Linked DNA regions of Homo sapiens: all the other regions are linked to region 5. The links are contacts of gene promoters, found by promoter capture Hi-C in blood cells and fetal thymus (Javierre and others, 2016). All regions are on one chromosome and are shown on one strand. The core of a region is centred on a gene start or on the middle of the fragment in contact, and the rest is flanking DNA. Distances in the headings are between cores, read along the strand shown.

Region 1 (3,814 bases), core at 913-3,412, 2.1 Mb before region 5:
GGTATTTTGTTAAAGCAGCCTGAATAATCTAAGAAAGAAATTGCTACCAGAAGTGAGGCTGATGCTGGAACAAATACCTAAAAATATGGAAGGGACTTTGAAACTGGGTAATGGATAGACTTTGGAAGTACATGCTAGGAAAAAGCCCACATTGCCATAAATGGGGGAGCATTAGGAGTAATTCTGGTGAGGGCTCAGAAGAAGAGAAAAGTTAGAGAGAAAGCCTCAGTCTTCTTAGATGTTTTCTAAGATAGCGTGAATAGAATGTTGATAGAAATATGGACAGTATTTCCATTCTGATGAAGCTCAGATAAAAAGTAAGGAGCAAGTTATTGAAAACTGGAGGAAAGGTAATCCTTGTTATAAAGTGGCAAAGAACTAGGCTGAATTGTGCTCGTGTCCTAGTGTTTTGTGGAAGGTGAAACTTGTGAGAGGTGAAATGGGATATTTGACAAAAGAATTTCTAAGCAAAATGTTGAAGGAGCAGCTTGGCTTCGCTTGACTACTTATAATAAAATACCAGACGAGAGAAAAAAATGTAAACATGAAATTGATAAAAAGGAAGCAGAATTGAAAGATTTGGAAAAACCACAGTCTCCCCATGTTGCAAAGAATGAGAAAGGCTGTTTACAAGATTACACCAAGGGCATGGACAAGCAGTCCTTCCTATGGATGAAGACAGGTGCTATTCATCAAGACAATGGAGGAATGACCTCAAACTCATTTTGGAGAGCATCAGGTCTGTCACTTCTATCATAGGTCTAGAATTCCAAGGCCTGGGGGACAGAAAAATATCAAGAGAGACCTGAGGCCCCTACTGGCCTCCACACTCTCCTCCCTTTCCTGTACCACCACAAATCTCTGCTCCCTGCTTTCTGGCACACCAATATTCAACTGTCCCACGTGTGGTTCCAGTGGTCCCAGGCACAGTGGTGACACGAAGTCTATGGCTCTCCTTGGCTGGAATTTAACACAGGTGAGGGTCTTGAGGGTAGACCTGCTCCCAAACCTCCACTAGACATTTCCCTAGTGGGAGTTCTCTAAAGTGGCCCTGCCCCTGTGGCAGCTCTCTGCCTGGGCCCTGAGGCTGTCTGGGACATTTTTTGAAATCTAAGTGGAGGCAGCCATGCACCCACAGCTCTGCACTCTGTGCACTAGTGGAGATGGCATGGTGCAGTTGCCACCAACGTTTACTGCCTGCAGCCTGTAGAAGAGTGGCTCTGAATAGAGTGTTTTCTAATTAGCTCTATCCATTCATTACTTTTTCCTAGTTTTAGTTACACACTCTAATTCATTTATAGAAATTTTGACCTGATGTAGTTCCTAGTTCCTGAATTTAAAGTTCAATGGTCACCAGCACTTTCTTAGGATTTGTAAATAAACATCAGCAGATCATAATGCTCACTTTGTTATCCTCTGGGTAGCGACTGAGAAGGGAGAAGCAAATACAAATTTATGTATTCTGTTTTCCCGAGCTGGGCTATTGTATCTTAATTTTTTGCCCTATTCTTTGATGAGACATCATTATATAATGTCTAAGCTATCTGCCTTGGCTTTGAGTTTCTTTCTATTGAAAATAATTTCTGGGGTCATTTCCTCATACTTGGGCATTTGATATTTTATCTTTTTTCTGTTATATTCTGTCATTTGTCATTTGTTAAAGTTTCCAACAATATCAAAGTTATCTTCTTTAGACTTGGGCTTTTTCTTTTAGATTTCAAGACCTTTTTAGGGAGGCTTATTAAATCTAAATTGAGTTTGGGTCTGAATATTTAACTTCTTAATATAAACTGTGGGTGTGTTGTTTGATAGTCCTTCTAAATTAGATTTCTTCATCTTGGATATTGCTTTCATTTTAGAGAATATTTTTTAGAGCACAAATTCATCCTCTTACTAATTTAATTGGAATGCCTATATAATTGCATTCTATCCTTGTGGAAGTGTGAAAAATTGATACAAGTGTATTGCTAAAGTCACAGAACAGACTCACTGAGAAAATTGAAATAAATTAATCTCATGGTTTATCGAATTTATTGCAAACACACCGTAAGAATCAAGGGGAAAGAGAAGAAGGTAGGGTTACACACTTAGGATAGCATGCAAGCAGAGTAGAATGACCAAGCTACTTGAGTCTTGTTTTATGCAATGTACATATATCCTATCTCTTTCTGCTTCATCAGGTTTTCCTACTGATGGCAGGGATACAAGAACCAGAGTTAAGGTATAAAAAAAGGAAGTCAGCAGATAGAGGGGCCTGTAACCATAACACTCTTGTTCTTTTGAAGACACTCAGGAAGGTGCATGCCTGTAGCTGAGCCTTACGAATTGGCCAGATAAACAGTTACGGGTACTATATGGCAAAGGACAAACGAATGACGATGGGGCATCACTAATGGGTGGCTGGTTAAAAACTCCGTGATACTGAATGACTCATGTGGCTTGCATATTTACTGTATCATGAATATTTAATGTTTTATGTGCATAATTTGGGGTATCAAAGTTCCTCATATACTTAATGAATATCCCGATGACTTCTTAGTCCTTCCATCCTTCTTTTTTATGTTGACAACTAAAATTTATTTCATAATTTATGTGTAACTTTTCTCACAAGCTACTTGTCTGTATAGTTAGATTCATCCAACTGTCATATGTTTTGTTTCTTTTTTGTTTCATATATATGTTCTAGTTATTTTTAATGATAGAATTGAATACTATTAAATGTATACTGGATACATTTCACTACAACCTGCAGACTCTGCTCTTCTATTTCTATGTATGTATACAATGACAATCCCTACATAAGCCATCAATAGCAGTATTAGTCATAATAACCCAGAAGGGGAAAGAACCTGAAGGTCTGTGAAAAACAGAATGAATAAATTGCAGTGAAAACAAATGCATCATGGTTGCTTTCAACCACCAGGTTAAACTGCACAAACATAATGTTGAATGGATGAAACCACTAAACAAAATTAAAATTTGTGATTCCGTTTATATAAATGTCAGAAAGAGGAAAATCTAATTTACGGCACAGTGAGTTTGGCTAGTGTTTACTTTTGTAGGGGATTAGTGTCTAGAAGGAGGGAAACAAAGGGATATCTGGAATTCTGTGAATATTCTTTTTCTTGATCTGGGTATTGGCTTTGTGAGTATTTGGTTTGTAAGGAAAAAAAGACTACACACTTTTTTTACAGTTCTGATATTGCCTATATAATAAAATAAAATGCAAAATAAACATAATAAACAACATATGAAATATAATTAGTATGATTTTATTTCAAGAAAATATAGAGGGAAAAGACTGGAAGAAGACTGAACAAAACAAAAATTGACAAATGGTATCTAATTACACTAAAGCCTTTCTGCACAGCAAAAGAAACTATCAATGAAGTAAACACGCAACATACAGGATGGGAGAATATATTTCCAAACTATAGATTTTACAAAGGTTCAATATGCAGCATCCATAAGGAATTTAAACCAATTTACAAGAAAAAAAAAATTAAAAAGTGGGCAAATGAAAGCAACAGACACTTTTCAAAAGAAGACATACATATGGCCAACAGGCATATGAAAAAACGCTCAATATTAATAATTGTTAGAGGAATGCAAATCTAAACCACAGTAAGATGCCATCTCACACCATTTAGAATGGTTATTACTGAAAAGTCAAAACAAACAAACAAACAGATGTTAGTGAGACTGCAGAGAAAGGTAACATTTATACAATATTGGTGGGAGTATAAATTAGCTCAACCATTGTGGAAGGCAATGTGGTGATTCCTCAAAGAGCTAAAAACAGAACTACCATTCA
Region 2 (3,903 bases), core at 371-2,870, 2.2 Mb before region 5:
TGAGAAGGAATCAAAAAAACAATTCTGGTAATATGACAAAGCAAGGTACTTTAACACCCCCAAAAGATCACACGAGCCCACCAGCAATGGATCCAAACCAAGAAGAAATCTCTGCATTTCCAGAAAAAGAATTCAGAAGGTCAATTATTAAGCTACTCAAGGAGGAACCAGAGAAACATAAATACCAACTTAAAGAAATTTAAAAAAAATGATGGAGGATATGGATGGAAAAGTATCCAGAGAAATAAATAGCATGAATAAAAACATCACAATTTCTGGAAATAAAGTACATTTAGAGAAATGCAAAATACACCGGAAAGTCCCAGCAATAGAGTTGAACAAGTAGAAGAAAGGACTTAAGAGCTTGAAGAAAAGGCGTTCAAATTAACCAAATCCAACAAAGACAAATAAATAAATTAAAAACAATGAACAAAACTTCCAGGAAGTTTGGGACTGTGTTAAATGACCAAATATAAGGATAATTAGCCTTCCTTAGGGAGAAGAGAAATCTAAAAGTTTGGAAAACATATTTGAAGGAATAATTGAGGAAAACTTCCCTGGTCTTGCTAGAGATCTAGACATCCAACTACAACAAGGTCAAAAACACCCCAGAAATTCCTTGCAAAAGATAATCACCTAGCACATAGTCATCAGGTTATCTAAAGTCAAGACGAAAGAAATAATTTTAAGAGCTGCAACACAAGAGCATCAGATAACCTAAAAAGGAAAGCCTATCAGATGAACAGCAGATTTCTCAGCAGAAACCCTACAAGCTAGAAAGGATTAGGGTCCTATCTTTAGCCTCCTTAAACAAAACAATTATCATCCAAGAATTTTCTATCCAGCAAAACTAAGCTTCACAAATAGACACTCTAACGTCATACCTCCTCAAGGAACTAGAGAAATAAAAACAAATCAAACCCAAACTCAACTGAAGAAAAGAAACAACAAAGATCAGAGCAGAACTACATGAAATTGAAACAAAAAAACACCAAAGATAAATGAAACAAAAAGCTGGTTCTTTGAAAAGTTAAACAAAATTGATAGATCATTAGCAAGATTAAAAAAAGAAAAGAAGAGACTGTAAACACAGCACTTTGGGAGGCTGAGGCCAGGAGATCGAGACCATTCTGGCTAACACGGTGAAACTTTATCTGTATTAAAAATACAAAAAATTAGCTGGGCATGGTGGCCGGAGCCTGTAGTTGCAGCTACGCGGGAGGCTGAGGCAGGAGAATGGCGTGAACCCGGAAGGCGGGAGCTTGCAGTGAGCCTAGATCGCGCCACTGCACTCCAGCCTGGGCAACAGAGTGAGACTCCACCCACCACCCCTACCCTCCACAAAAAAAAAAAAAAAAAAAAAAAAGAGAAAAGAAAAGAAGAGAGAAGATCCAAATAAGCTCAATTAGAAATAAAATGATAAATATTACAATCGATACCACAGAAATACAAAAGATCATTCAAGCCTTCTATGAAGGCCATTACGCAGACAAACTAGAAAACCAAGAGGAGACAGATAGATTCCTGGAAATATACAACACCCCTAGATTAAACCAGGAAGAAATAGAAGCGGAACAGACCAATAACAAGCAGTGATATTAAAATGGTAATTTAAAAATTGTCAGCAAAAAAAAGTCCAGGACCAGATGGATTCACTGCTGAATTCTATCGGACATTCAAAGAGGAATTGGTACCAATCCCATTGACACAATTCCAAAAGATAGAGAAAGAGGGAATCCTCCCTATGTCATTCTGTGAAGCCAGTATCACCCTAATACCAAAACCATGAAAGTACATAACAAAAAAAGAAAACTACAGACCAATGTTCCTAATTAACATAGATGCAAAAATCCTCAACACAATACTAGCTAACTGAATCCAACAGCATATCAAAAAGATAATCCAGTCCTGGGCTCAAGTGATCCTCCCTCATCGGCCTCTCAAAATGCTGGGATTACAGGCATGAGCTACCATGCCTCTTCCTCTAGTAATAAATTTAACCAAAGAAGTAAAAGATCTCTACAATAAAAAGTACAAAAAAATGATTAAAAATGGAAGAAGGCACTAATAAATGAAAAAATGCCACATTTATAAATTGAAAAATATAATATTGTTAAAGTGTTCATACTATACAATAGACATTGAATCTACATTTATTACAATCCATATCAAAATACCAATGACATTTTTTACAGAATTAGAATGAAAATCCTAAAATTTTCATGGAACCACAAAATACATTGAATTGTCAAAGCAATATTAAGCAAAAAGAACAGAATTGGAGGCATCACACTATATATTACAAAGCTATAATTACCAATACAAAGTTATGTTACAAAGTGTATTACAAAGCTACAGTAATACACTTTACTTCAAAATATATTGTAAAGCTTATAGTAACCAAAAAAACTTGTATTTATATAAAAATCGACACATAGTCTAAAAGAACAGAATAGACATCCCAGAAATAAGTCCACATATTCACAACCAACTGATTTTTGACAAAGGTGCCAAGAACATACATTGAAGAAAGTCTTTTTAATAAATGGTTCTGGGAAAACTGGATATCCACATGCAGAAGAATAAAACTAGATCTCTCCCTCTCACCACTTAATAAAATAAAATCAAAATGCATTATAGATCTAAAGGTAAGACTCAAAATTATGAAACTACTAGAAGAAAACACTGAAGAAATGCTTCATGTCATTGGTGGGGACAATGATTGCTTTGAGTAAGACTTCAAACAGCACAGGTAACAAAAGCAAAAATAGGCAAATGAAATTACATCAAACTAAAAAGCTCCACAATGAAGAGACAATCTAAAGAATAGAGAAAATATTCAAAATCTGAGTATCTGACAATAAGTTAATCTTCAGAATATGTAAGGAACCTAGACAACACAATAGCAAAATCAATAATAATCTAATATAAAATTAAAAATATATCTGAATAATTTTCTCAAAAAAAAGTACAGCTGACCAGCAGGCACATTTTAAAAAGTGCTCAACATTGCTAGTCATCTGGGGAATGCAAATGATAACCACAATGAGACATCACCACACCCTAGTTGAATGACTATCATAAAAAAACAGGCAAATGCTGGTGATGCTATGGAGAAAAAGGAACTCTTCTAAACTGTTTGTGGGAATATAAAGTAGTACAACCATTGTGGACAATAGTATGAAAATTCTTCACAAAACTAAAAGTAGAACTACCATATGATCTAGCTACCACACTACTAGATATATCCAAAGGAAATTAAATCAGTATGTCACAGAGATATCTACATTTCCATGTTTATTGCAGCCCTGTTCTCAATAGCCAGGATATGGAATCAGCCTAAGTGTGCATAAAAGGATGAATGAATTTTTAAAATGTGGTATATATAAATATACAGAATGTTATATTATTCAGCCATCAAAAATAATGAAATCATGTTATTTGCAACAAAATAGATAAACTTAGAGGACATTTTGTTAAATGAAGTAAGCCAAGGACAGGAGGACAAATACTGCATAATCTTACTTACATGTGCAATCTAAAAAAGTTGATCTAATGGAAGTAGAGAGTAGTATCGTGGTTACCAGAGGCTGGGGAGAATAGAGGAGAAGGGGGTATGAGGAGAAGTTGATCAATAGGTACAAAGTTATAGTTAGATTGGAAGAATAAATTTTGATGCTGGATTGCGTAGTAGAGTGAACATAGTCAACAATAACATATTGTTATTTCAACATAGCCAGAAAAAGGGTCTTGAATGCTCTCACCACAAAGAAATGACAAGTGTTTGAGGTGACGGATCTGCTAATTACCCTGACTGGATCATTACACAATGAAAATATGAATTGCAACATCACACTTTACTCCATAATTAGGCACAATTGTTATTTGTCAATTGAAAACAAA
Region 3 (4,018 bases), core at 357-2,856, 2.1 Mb before region 5:
ATTGGATTTTATCAAATACTTTTCTCTGTGTATGTTGATATTTTCCTATGATTTTTCCTCTTTAGCATTCCTTCATTATCTTTTTAATATGCATGAGATCAATAGTGAAGTCTCCTTTTTGCTTCTAGTATTAAAAAATGTGCTGCTTCTCCTTTTTTATTGGTTTGCATGGCCAGAGGTCCACTACATTTATTGATATTTTCAAAGAATCAGCTTTGGTTTTGTTGAATTTCTTTATAATTCTTTTTTTCAATTTCACTAATTTTGCTTTAATATTCATATTTTCTTCTATTTTATTTGCATTGAACTTGCTCTTTCCTTTTTCTTAACATTATTGATTTTAAGTGTTTTTTATACATGCATGCAATATTATATACATTTGCCTTTAATTACTGGTTTTTCTGCATCCCAGAAATTTGATCAATTGTATATTCATTTTAATTCAGTTCAAAATATTTACAATTTCTCTCGAGATTTGTTTGTCCAATGTGTCATTTAGAAAACTGTCCTTTCATCTCCAAATATTTAGTATTTCCCAGCTATCTTTCTGTTACTGAGTTCCAGTTTAATTGCACTGTAGTCTGAGGGCATATATTATGTAAGTTCATTTTTTAAAAACTTAAGTTCATGGGTATATGTTCAGGTTTGTTAAACAGGTAAACATATGTCATGGAGGTTTATTGTGCAGATTATTTTATCACCCAGGCGTTAAGCTTAGTACCCATTAGTTATTCTTCCTAATCTTCTCGCTCCTTCTACTCTCCACCCTCCGATATGCCCCAATGGATGTTGTTCCCCAATGTGTCCATGTGTTCTCATCATTTAGCTACCACTTATAAGTGAGAACTTCCAGTATTTGGTTTTCTGTTCCTGCATTAGTTTGCTAAAGATAATGGCCTCTAGCTCTACCCATGTTCCTTCAAAGGACATGATCTTATTCCTTTTTATGACTGCATAGAATTCCACAGTATAAATGAACCACATTTTTCTCTATTCAGTCTATCATTAATGAACATGTAGGTTAATTCCATGTCTTTGCTATTGTGAATAGTGCTGCAATGTACATACATGTGCATGCATCTTAATAATAGAACAATTTATATTTCTTTGGGGAAATAGCCAGTAATGGGATTGCTGGCTCGAATGGTATTTCTGTCTTTATGTCTTTGAGGAATTACCACACTGTCTTCTACAATGGCTGAACTAATTTGCACCCCCACCAACAGTGTATTAGCATTTTTTTTCTCCACAACCTTACCAGCATCTGTTATTTTTTGAGTTTTTAATAACAGTCAGTCTGACTGGTGTGCGATGATATGTAATTGTGGTTTTTATTTGCATTTCTCTAAAAATCAGTGATGTTGAGTTCTTTTTTTCATATGCCTGTTGGCCACATGTATGTCGTCTTTTAAGAAGTGTCTGTTCATGTCTTTTGCCTACTGTAAATTTTTTTTTGCTTTCTTCTTGTACTTTAGTTTAATTTCCTCATAGATGCTGGATACTAGATTTTTGTCAGATGCATAGTTTGCAAAAATTTTCTCCCATTCTGTAGGCTGTCTGTTTACTTTGTTAATAGTTTCTTTTGCTATGTGGAAGCTCTTGTTTAATCAGATCTCATTTATCAATTTTTACTTTTGTTGCAATTGTTTTTGGTGTGTTTGTCATGAAACCTTTTCTTGTGCCCATGTCCTGAATTGTATTGCCTAGGTTGTCTTCCAGGGTTTTGGTAGTTTAGGGTTTTACTTTTAAGTCTTTAATTGATCTGGAGTTAATTTTTGTATAAGGTGTAAGGAAGAGGGGCAGTTTCAATGTTCTGCATATATCTAGCCAGTTATTCCAGCACCATTTATAGAAGAGCCAGTTATTCCAGTGCCGTTATTAGAGAATAATGCTTTCCCCATTGCTTGTTTTTGTCAGGTTTATCAAAGATCAGATGGTTGTAGGTGTGCGGGTTCTCTATTTTGTTCCACTGGTTTACGTGTCTGCTCTTGTACCAATACTAGGCTGTTTTGGTTAATGTAACCCTGTAGCTTGAAGTTAGGTAGCATGCTGCCTCCAGCTTTGTTCTTTTTGCTTAGGGTTGCCTTGACTATTTGGACTCATTTTTGGTTCCACATGAATTTTAAAATAGTGTTTTTCTAGCTCTGTGAAGAATGTCGATGGTAGTTTAATGAGAATAACATTGAATTTATAAATTGCTTTGAGCAGTATGGCCACTTGAATGATATTGATTCTTCCTATCCATGGTCACACAATGTTTTTCCATCTGTTTGTGTCATCTCTGATTTCTGTGAGCAGTGGTTTGTAATTCTCCTTATAGATATTTTACCTTATTAGTTAGCTGTATTCCCAGGTATTTTATTATTTTTGTGGCAATTGTGAATTGGAGGTTGTTCATGATTTGCCTCTAGCTTGACTGCTGTTTGTGTGTAGGAATGATAGAATTTTTGCACATTAATTTTGTATCCTGAGTGTTTGCTGAAGTTGTCTATCAGCTTAAGAAGCTTTGGGGGTGAGACAGTGGGGCTTTTAGATATAGGATCATGTTGTCTGCAAACAGCAACAGTTTGATTTCTCTCTCCCAATTTAAATGCCCTTTATTTCTCTATTGCCTGAATGTCTTGGCCAGGACTTCCAGTCCTATGTTAAATAGGAGTGGTGAGAGAGGGCCTTCTTGCCTTGTGCTGATTTTCAAAGGGAATGTTTCCAGCTTTTGCCTCTTCAGTATGATGTTGGCTGTGGGTTTGTCATAAATGGCTTTTATTATTCTGAGGTATGTTCCTTCAATATCTAGTTTATTGAGAGTTTTTAACATGAATGGATGTTGAATTTTATCGAAAGAATTTTCTGCAACTATTGAAATAGTCATGTGGTTTTTGCCTCTAGTTCTGTTTATGTGATGAATCACATTGATTGATTTGCAGATGTTGAACCAACCTTGTATCCTGGGGATGATGCTTACTTGATCATGATGACTAAGCTTTTTGATGTGCTGCTGGATTCAGTTTGCCAGTAATTTGTTGAGGACTTTTGCATTGATGTTCATCAAGGATATTGGCCTGGAGTTTTCTTTTTTTGTTGCGTCTCTGCCAGGTTTTGGTATCAGGATGATGCTGGCCTCATCGAATGAGTTAGGGAGGAGTGCCTCCTTTTCAATTTTTTGGAATAGTTCAGCAGGAATAGTACCAGTTCTTTGTACATCTGGTAGAATTCAGGTGTGAATCTGTCTGGTCTTGGACTTTGTTTGGTTGGTAGGCTATGTATTACTGCCTCAATTTCAAAACTTGTTTTTGGTCTATTTGGGGATTCCTTTTTTCCCCCCATCCCTTTATTTTGAGCCTATTCCCCTCCCTCTGGGAGCTCTATTCCAGGAAATTTTCAAAACTCTAGAGGTTCCAGTTGGGAGGTCCCACCCAGTGAGGAGAAAGGATCAGGGACCTGCTTAAGGAAGCAGTCTGACCACATTTTTGTAGAACTGTGATAGGGGATCCCTTCTGCCCCATTTCAGTTTGGACTCTCCAAAGCCCACAGGTTGGAATGTCATCCACATAACAAAGATGGTGGCCTGTCCCTCCCCATAGGAACTCTGTCCCAGGTAGGAGTGACACTGTTGCTGGTGTTTGGCTGGAATTTCACACCAGTGGGTCTAATCCTATGAGGCACTGTGGAAGTGGGGATCCAGACTGTCGCTGACCAGCCCATTGGATTCAGCCCCCTTCCTGGGGGTATGTACAAAGTTCCAACCTTCCACCTTGCCAGAGTTGCAGTCAGTTTTGCCTGGAAGCCAGGTGCTGGAGTATGTTAAGCTCCTGAGTCTCTGCGTGTGCCTGAGTGGCTACTCTGCCAAGACTCCAGGCAGCTGTGTGTGTCAGACTGAAGGCCCTGATGGAGTGGGTTCATGATGGAATCTCCTTACCAGAGGGTTGAAAACATCTGTGGGAGAGGCTTGGTTTCTCTGAGTTGCACATTCACTTACTGCTTCCCTGGGCGGGGGATGTTCACCTGGCTCTGTGTTGCT
Region 4 (3,997 bases), core at 76-2,575, 2.2 Mb before region 5:
AGAATGTTTTTGTTTTGATTTTTGACGACTGATTGAATTTTAGTTTTTCCCAACCACTAAGGACAACATAATAATTATAAAACTAGTATTCAAACTTTAATAAATGTCTGTTAAATTATTTTCTATAGTAGTTTTTTATATATATACATTTATCTTGGGTAATTAGCACCTTTATAAATGTCAATTGTTTTAGATAGAAACATGGCACATCTTTCCTTTGTTCAAGTTTTAATTTAAATATTTTAGTACATTAATTTCCTTTATATAGCTAAAACATTTTGAAATATTTTGGTGTTTTTTGCATTCTTTTCAATAAAATTATTCCCTATTCATATTTTCTATTAAACTATTGCTTAAATATTTATGTTCCATAGACTTCTATCTTGTGGTAACTTACATCACAAATGTTTTTATTACATTTTCTTCTGTAGTGATCTAAGATTCTCAGACTTTCTACAAAATTCGATGTGCAGATATCTTATTTTTTATTGATAAGAGGTTCTTTAGAAATTAAATGATTAAGTTGTTCTTAATAATTCCCAATAAAAATATCTATTATAAAACAATATTAGCTTTATGTTGTTATGAGGCATTCCTTGTATTCTTAATAAAGACTCCTTAGATTTATTTTTTGAGTCCCTCTGTTCTTATAATTTATATATCCTGTCTCAGCATGTACTCTAATAAGTGCATGCTACATTTTAATAATACTTTTAGCCCTCTTGTTTATATTATGTATTCTTTCTCTCCTACTAAATAATTATTGCATTATTTAGGTAACTTTTACTTTAGTGGTGTAGCCTCATTATAGTTTTTTTAATTACCAATGTTATATCTATATTCATTCATAAGTAGTTTACAGGAATTGTTTTAAATTTTTATAATTGATTAATCAGCTTTGTAATAAACATTTTGCTAGTTTTATTCAATACATTATGAGTATTCTTTATGTTACTCCTGGAATAGTTTACTTAAGGATAGTGTGGTAATATGTTTATGAATCATCCATGCTAAAGATAATCTAAATTGTGAAGTTTTAATGTATTTCTTTGATATCTTTCAATTATTAACTATTAAGTATATTTTATTCACAGATTTTTGGACATTTCTATTTTTCTTTAGAAATGTGCCTATTTTATCAAGATGTTCAAAATTTAGAACATAGTGTTACTTTACTTTTAAAATTTCTATATATAGCACTACTGGTTTATTTCTTCTTATGTTCTCATACATATTTTTTCTAAGATCTTGTAATATTTTTGTAATTAAAAAAATAGCAATTTGTTTTTACATCCTCCTCTGCCTAAACACCCACAATGTTCTAACAAAATAAATCCACACTTGGTGTTTGCATTTAAGTTAGTTTTGAAAAATCAAGTTACAGTATTTATTTTTTCTTTCGCTACATTTTTTTTGTTTAATACATATAAATTACGCACTTTTAAAACTCTCACTCACATCACCACATGTAACCATGTGTAGAAAAACATAAATGTCCACATAAGTCACACTGGAGTCTAATTAAAATGATAGTCCTGTTATGATAGAGTAGTGCTCTTTACAGTAAATTATAGCATATGGTACAGGAAAGAAAAGGTGATTAATAGTACCTAATACTCTTTATAGTATACATATGCCCAGATACAGTCTTCCTCTTAAAATATATAGGTCCAATAATAATCTCTGTTGGTTATGAAGTGATAACTCCTTGTGGTTTTTGGACTTACATTTCCCTGATAGTGAGTGACATTGAGTACCTTTTCATAAACTCATTGGTCATTTGTATGTCTTTCTTTGAGAAATGTTTATTTAATTATTTAGTCTATTTTTAAATTGGTATGTTTGTTTTTATTCTATTGAATTATAGGACTTCTTTATATTTTTTAGGTATTAACCCCTTAGCAGATATATGATTTACAAATATTTTCTTCATTTTTATAGGTGAATTTCCATTTTGTTCATTTTTTCCTTTGAAGTGTAGAAAATGTTTTAGTTTGACATAGCTCCATTTGTGTGTGTTTGTTTTTGCTGTTTATGCTTTTGTTGTCATATCCAAGAAATCATTGTCAAGACCAATGTCAAGAAGATTTTCTCCTGTGTTTCCTTCTAGGAATTTTATTAATCCTTCACATATTATTGTTTAATTCATTTTAAGTTGATTTTTGTGTATGGTGTATGATGAGGGACCAATTACAAAAGATAACTTTTGTTTTTTTTAGACAGGGTCTTGCTCTGTTGCCCAGGCTGGTGTGCAGTGGCACAATCATAGGTCACTGCAGCCTCGACCTCCTGGCTCTAACGATCCCCCCACCTCAGCCTCCTGAGTACCTGGAACTACAGGTGTGCACTACCACACCTGGCTAATATTTTTATTTATTTATTTATTTTGTAGAGACAGAGTTTTACCATGTTTCTCAGGTTGGTCTCAAACTCCTGCACTCAAGAAATCTGCCCACCTCAACCTCCCAAAGTGCTGGGATTATAGGCATGAGCCACTGCACCTAGCCAGATAACAAATATTGTTGTGGATGTAGAGAAAAGGGAACCCTTATATACTGTTGATAGAAATGCAAATTGGTGCAACAACTATGGAAAAAAAGGATGGACGTTCCCCGCCAAATTATAAATGAAATTATTATATAATCTAGCAATCCCACTTCTGTATATACATTCAAGAAATTGAAATCACGATCTCAAAAAGATGTCTGCACTCCCATGTTCATTGCAGCATTATTCACGATAGGGAAAACATGAAAGCAACTGGAATGTTTATCAATGGATGAATGCAAAAAGAAAATACGGTATATACATACAATCGAATATTATTCAGTTTTTACAAAGAAGTAAATTCTACCACTCGCTACAACACGGATAAATCTGGAAGACATTATGCTGAGTGATATACACTGGAAAAAGAATGACAAATGCTACAAGATCCCATTTATATGAGAAAAATCTAAAATAATCAAACTCATAGAAGTAGAGGCTAGAATAGTGGTTTCCAGGGACTGAGGGGAGGGGGAAATGAAGATTTATTAGCCAAAGATTAAAAAGTTGCAGTTACACAAAAAGAGTAAGCCCTGGAGATCTATTGTATTGCATAGAGTCTATAGTTAACAATATCATTTGTATACTTAAAAATGTGCCCAGAGGCTAGATGTTATGTTAAATGTCCTTATCACTGTAATAATAACAACAATAACTGAAGAGTGTGGGAGAAAACTTTTGGAGGTAATGTATAAGTTTATGGCATAGATTGTGGTAATGATTTTACATATGCATACTTATCTCCAAACTTATCAAGCTGCATATAATAAATATTTATGTCTTTTTGTGTCAATCATACATTATTAAGGTGGTTTTAAAAATTAAAATAAAATATCTAAGTCCAAATTCATGCATTTAAATTTGTAAACATAAATAATATAGGTATATTTCTAAATATCAAAAATTCACTATTACTATTCACAGTGAATTAATATTAATAAATAAAATTCACTATTATTTAAATTTATTATCTAAATCTCTAAAATTCACTGTTATCCAGATTGATTCCCTATTATCCAGTTTGCCAATTCCTAAGTTATTCAGAAACAGATCTACTTCTATTTTTTCCTGAAATATCCAGATGTTGCAAGAAAACCTAAGTCTTTGCCATGAACCATCAATGCACTTGGACCTGTGCATACCGCAACATAAAATCTTTTAACAGATGCTTTTCCTCAGCTTTGTAGATTTTTCTTATTTGGATGCAAAGTATTACACATCCGGTTATAGAAGTGAGTCTTTCCTTTTGATTACAGGAAAAAATGTAAATGAAAAGAGATATTGGCTTTATGCCTTTATTTCTTGTACCATAAAATTATTTATTCATTAATATATTTATTTACTTCTAACTTCTTCTATAATCATGGTCATCAGCATAAGAATGTAAATTATATTTAGATTGCTGAATGTGTTCTTTTTTTTTTTTTGAGACGAGTTTTGCTCTTGTTGC
Region 5 (4,020 bases), core at 178-2,677:
GGAGGCCGAGGAAAGAGGATTACTTGAGCCCAGGAGCACAGGAGATCAGCCTGAGGGCAATATAGTGAGGGCTTGTCTTTCAAAAAAAAAAAACCTTAAAAAAAAAGTAGCCAAGTGGTGGCACACGCCTAGCAGGAGGCTCGCTTGAGCCTAGGAGGTGGAGGTTGCACTGAGCCAAGATCATGCCACTGCACTCCAGGCTAGGCAACAGAGCAAGAATGTTTCTAAATAAATAAATACATAAAATAAAATCCTTAAGCCAATCTTCATTTACCAACCAATTTTTAATTCTTTTATTTGTTACCACATTGTCTCTCCTGAATATCCAAAGGCTCAAAGCCTTGGTTTGAATGCAGCTAAATTCATTGGGTTTGATCTCAAGTCAAACTTAGAAATACTGTCATCTCAGCCACAAATTTCACACTAAAGTAGATAGAAACCACTACTAAATCACTACTTTGTCTTAAAATGAAAGTATAATAGACTGTAAGGTTATAATTGCTTTTTTAAGTTAAACTTTGTTTTACATTTACAGAAAATTTGCAAAAATGGAGTCCCCACACCCCCTTCATCCAATTTCCCCTACCATTAATATCTTACAATACCATGGTATATCTGTCACAATAAAGAAATCGGTATTGGCACTATTACCTAAATTCCACACTTTGTTCAGATTCGCTAGTTTTCCATTAATGTCCTTTTTCTGCTGGAGATCCCAGCCAGGATACCACATTACATTTAATCATTATGCATCATTTTCTCTGGCATAATAGTTTCTCAGACTTTTCTTGTTTTTGAGTAGTGATTAGGTAATTTGTAAAATGCTAACCAGCGATCTCAGCTCACCATAACTTCCGCCTCTCGGGCTCAAGAGATTCTCCCACCTCAACCTCCCGAGTAGCCGGGACTACAGGCGTTCACCACCACACCAGGCTAATTTTTGTATTTTTAGTAGAAACGGGGTTTCGCCATGTTAGCCAGGCTGGTCTCCAACTCCTAACCTCAAGTGATCCGCCCGCCTCGGCCTCCCAAAGTGCTGGGATCACAGACGTGAGCCACCGCGTTCGGCCCCTTTTTCTAATATTGTCTAAAATAAGTATCCTAAACAGGAAATACCAAAAAAATCCCCCTCGCTTTCGTGACCTACACCGGTAAGCGTCAGGATCTTTCGCTATGCGAGAACCTTTTGGCTCTCGTATGTGCGCATGCGTCTGGATCCGGAGCCAGGTGACCCGCTCAGACGTGGACCATGTGCGGGGGAGGGGGGAAAGGAGCCGCGAAGGGGGTGGTAGACGGAACAGGTGGAGCCGCGGCGGGGCTAGGCGGGGCGGGGAGTGAAACAGCATAGGCTCCGCCCCTCGCGGCGCTTCCCCCGGAATAGCGTCATCAGTTCTATAAGAGAGCGTGTGCCGAAGGCCTCGGCCTTTCACATTCGGGAAGCGTCGGGATTAGGTGAAAGTACGTAGTTGTCTTTCGTAAGTTAAAATGATAATTGGGCCGAAACTTACTGCCTTACCTAAAAGGCAGCGCAGTCAGGATATTGGTAGGTCGGGGGCGGCTTTGGAAACCCTTAAGTTTACAAGCATGCGCGGACTTGAGTGCTCATTAGGTCGCCGGGCGTCCACGTGCAGCCCTGGACCCTGAACCCCGGCGTGCGTGGGCCGTGGGCCCTCGGGGAAAGGTTCCGTGCACTCGGGGACTCCGGTGAAGCCTGTTCAGCCGTCTGTGTCATGTGGCCATCTTGAGTCTACTCTGTCGCTCTTGTGCCCTAGCACCCCGAGAACCGTCAGTTTGAGCCAGATGGTGAGTAATAACCTGTAGCAGTTTGGTTGCTGGTTAATTCTGGATTGTGAATCTCCATGTATCTTTGGGACCTGTCAGCCGTGGCAGTCTCCCTTCCTAGCCATGGAAGAGCATATCCTTGTTTATTGGCAAAGCTGTCACCATTTAATTGGTATCAGATTCTGACTTGCACAAGTAACATTCACTGTTAAAAACCTAGAGGGTGCCGGGTTATTGGGCAAAATTTCTAAACCGTTGTTCAATGTTTCTAGGAAGCTGAGCTGAACACATTACGATGGATGATGGAAACATAAGGTACATTTCTTTTTTGATATTTCTGAGTTAATCTGAAACGCCTTAGCGGCAGGACGTTGGAAAGCTAAAGTTGGCCCGTTTTGCTGGCTTTTGTAGTTTGAGTTAACAACCAACTGAATTAGCTGATAAGATCTCAAAACAGTGAGGTAAGTACACAGCTCGGAGTTTTATAATGCTTTTTTTCTCTTGCAGACTATCAAGAAATCCAAGTGGTAATGGGCGAAGTTTATTCAGCATCCGGCAATGGACTTATCGTAGTTGGGGAAACGGGTGTTCCGAATAATATCCTGGAAGTTATCAGGACACCTATTTTAAATATAGGCCTGAATTTTGTAAAGTAATATTTAAGGTGGTCCGTGATAATTAAATAAAATGCTTAATTCATGTGGCTACTCATTGTTCCTTGACTGAGTGATTAATAGACGGAAAGGTAGTTAATAGCATAATACCTCCTATTTAGTGTTACACGCTCATGTGGAAGTAGTGTGAGTACAGTTCTAAGGTAATTGCAGCCTTTGTGAAAAATGTAAAATATAAAAATTACCAGGCTACCCCCAAGGGAGACAGCAGACTCTTTTTAAACCATACAAAAATTTAAGGCAGTTATACAAGGTGGAAAATTATGTATTTATTTACACAAATATGCACAGAACACTTGTATCTTTCAAAAGTCACACTTAAGACATAGTAAAAGCATGTTGTATGAACCATGTATTCTTAAGGATTGAGCAAACTGCAGGCTGCTTGCTGCCTTTTAGGTTTGCTAGTCCCTGATCTACTTGAAACAGATGTTGCTTGCCCCAACACTAGTTTAATTATAAGGGCAGCCTGTGAGAAAGTTTCAATAGACATTTTTCTCACCTATATTGCACGTTTTTCTGAAGCCCTTGTGCAAGTGTGTGTGCCATGTGTAGTTCTATTTACATATAAACGCTACTTTAAAAGTTTATCAAAATCATGAGTTTTTACAAAAGTTTTTAATGCTCTTCTGCATTATATGCAGCATTGCAAATCTGCAAAGTAGTAAAACTATAAAGCACCTTTAGGTTTGCACCAGTTATTACAGAAATGGGGATTTGTGAAAAGGATGTAATTTGATGTAGAAGGGCAAAGTCCTTTAATGACTGGCATTCAAGAGGATTACTTAAAACAATTTGTAAGTTCATGCTAACCTCTTCCCTATATTTATACTACTGGGACCTGGGGAAGGATCCATGACATGGAAGTATCTTGAGTGTGCCTTTTAAATTTGAGCATTACTGCTAAGAATGTTCTGTAAAGGTGCATAGTTAAGCAGCTATCCCTTAACTCTTGGAGAAATAGCCATAGGGAAACCAATCATTTAGGTAGGAGAACCATGGGGAAAAAAATCAGCATTTTTTCTGGAGTTTGGAATCAGTTTCACCAACTGGTCTCACTTTGAGGCAAGCCTGTTTTCCCCCATTTGAAAACAAGGGCTACTACCATAAGATTTACTGGCCTTTTGCAAATTGTCAGTGATGTGCAAAGCTGCCTAATGCAGTGCCTGGCATATGTTATAACTGCTGTATGTATTAGAACTTTTCAATGTGTAGGCCAGGAAAGCATTTTGACTAGTATATTTTAAGATTGGATTGTATCAGGTTGGGCTTGGGAAAACCTGCAGGTATAAGTCAGTTACAGGGAAGTGTCAGTGGGTGGCACTCTTACATCATGGTCGGGGAACGTGGACTATGATGAGGTGCTTGTTAAAAGCAAATATAGTAGATATGTTAATGTGTTGGATAAAATAGGTTGTATGTCCAGCTGGCATTTAGTTACCAGAAATCCTTTCAAATTTTGCTAGTTTATACGCTGTAGGTAGAAAGTATTTTTATCTTATGGTTTCTGTAGCACTTGGTACTCAACAAGGATACTTGTTTCCAAATATCAGATCACTTTGAG

The links. The method cuts DNA at HindIII sites, captures the fragments that hold promoters and counts their contacts. A CHiCAGO score of 5 or more calls a contact.
Region 1: a fragment that was not itself captured here is called in contact with the fragment with the promoter of SNHG8 in region 5 in 4 of 17 cell types (megakaryocytes, M0 macrophages, M2 macrophages and 1 more); the score reaches 11.1 in megakaryocytes.
Region 2: a fragment that was not itself captured here is called in contact with the fragment with the promoter of SNHG8 in region 5 in 2 of 17 cell types (M2 macrophages and endothelial precursors); the score reaches 6.5 in M2 macrophages.
Region 3: a fragment that was not itself captured here is called in contact with the fragment with the promoter of SNHG8 in region 5 in 1 of 17 cell types (M2 macrophages); the score reaches 6.3 in M2 macrophages.
Region 4: a contact is called between a fragment that was not itself captured here and the fragment with the promoter of SNHG8 in region 5, in 3 of 17 cell types (M2 macrophages, fetal thymus and M0 macrophages). The highest score is 11.8, in M2 macrophages.

What each region holds. Positions count from the first base shown.
Region 1 is chr4:116,185,078-116,188,891 of GRCh38, forward strand. No RefSeq gene overlaps it. Among named protein-coding and RNA genes, the nearest start is that of MIR1973, 110 kb to the right of the region's middle. The HindIII fragment of the contact is 5,449 bases long and covers 1-3,814 here.
Region 2 is chr4:116,067,427-116,071,329 of GRCh38, forward strand. No RefSeq gene overlaps it. Among named protein-coding and RNA genes, the nearest start is that of MIR1973, 230 kb to the right of the region's middle. The HindIII fragment of the contact is 1,535 bases long and covers 854-2,388 here.
Region 3 is chr4:116,163,192-116,167,209 of GRCh38, forward strand. No RefSeq gene overlaps it. Among named protein-coding and RNA genes, the nearest start is that of MIR1973, 130 kb to the right of the region's middle. The HindIII fragment of the contact is 1,791 bases long and covers 712-2,502 here.
Region 4 is chr4:116,049,313-116,053,309 of GRCh38, forward strand. No RefSeq gene overlaps it. Among named protein-coding and RNA genes, the nearest start is that of MIR1973, 250 kb to the right of the region's middle. The HindIII fragment of the contact is 7,629 bases long and covers 1-3,997 here.
Region 5 is chr4:118,277,335-118,281,354 of GRCh38, forward strand. It overlaps SNHG8 (small nucleolar RNA host gene 8), which reads left to right and starts at 1,428. Exons shown (of 3, transcript NR_034011.1): 1 at 1,428-1,458; 2 at 2,055-2,097; 3 at 2,290-2,489. It overlaps SNORA24 (small nucleolar RNA, H/ACA box 24), which reads left to right and starts at 1,856; the gene lies at 1,856-1,986. It overlaps PRSS12 (serine protease 12), which reads right to left. Exons shown (of 13, transcript NM_003619.4): 13 at 2,704-4,020. RefSeq lists an enhancer at 956-1,135 and a silencer at 1,206-1,255. The HindIII fragment of the contact is 13,799 bases long and covers 1-4,020 here.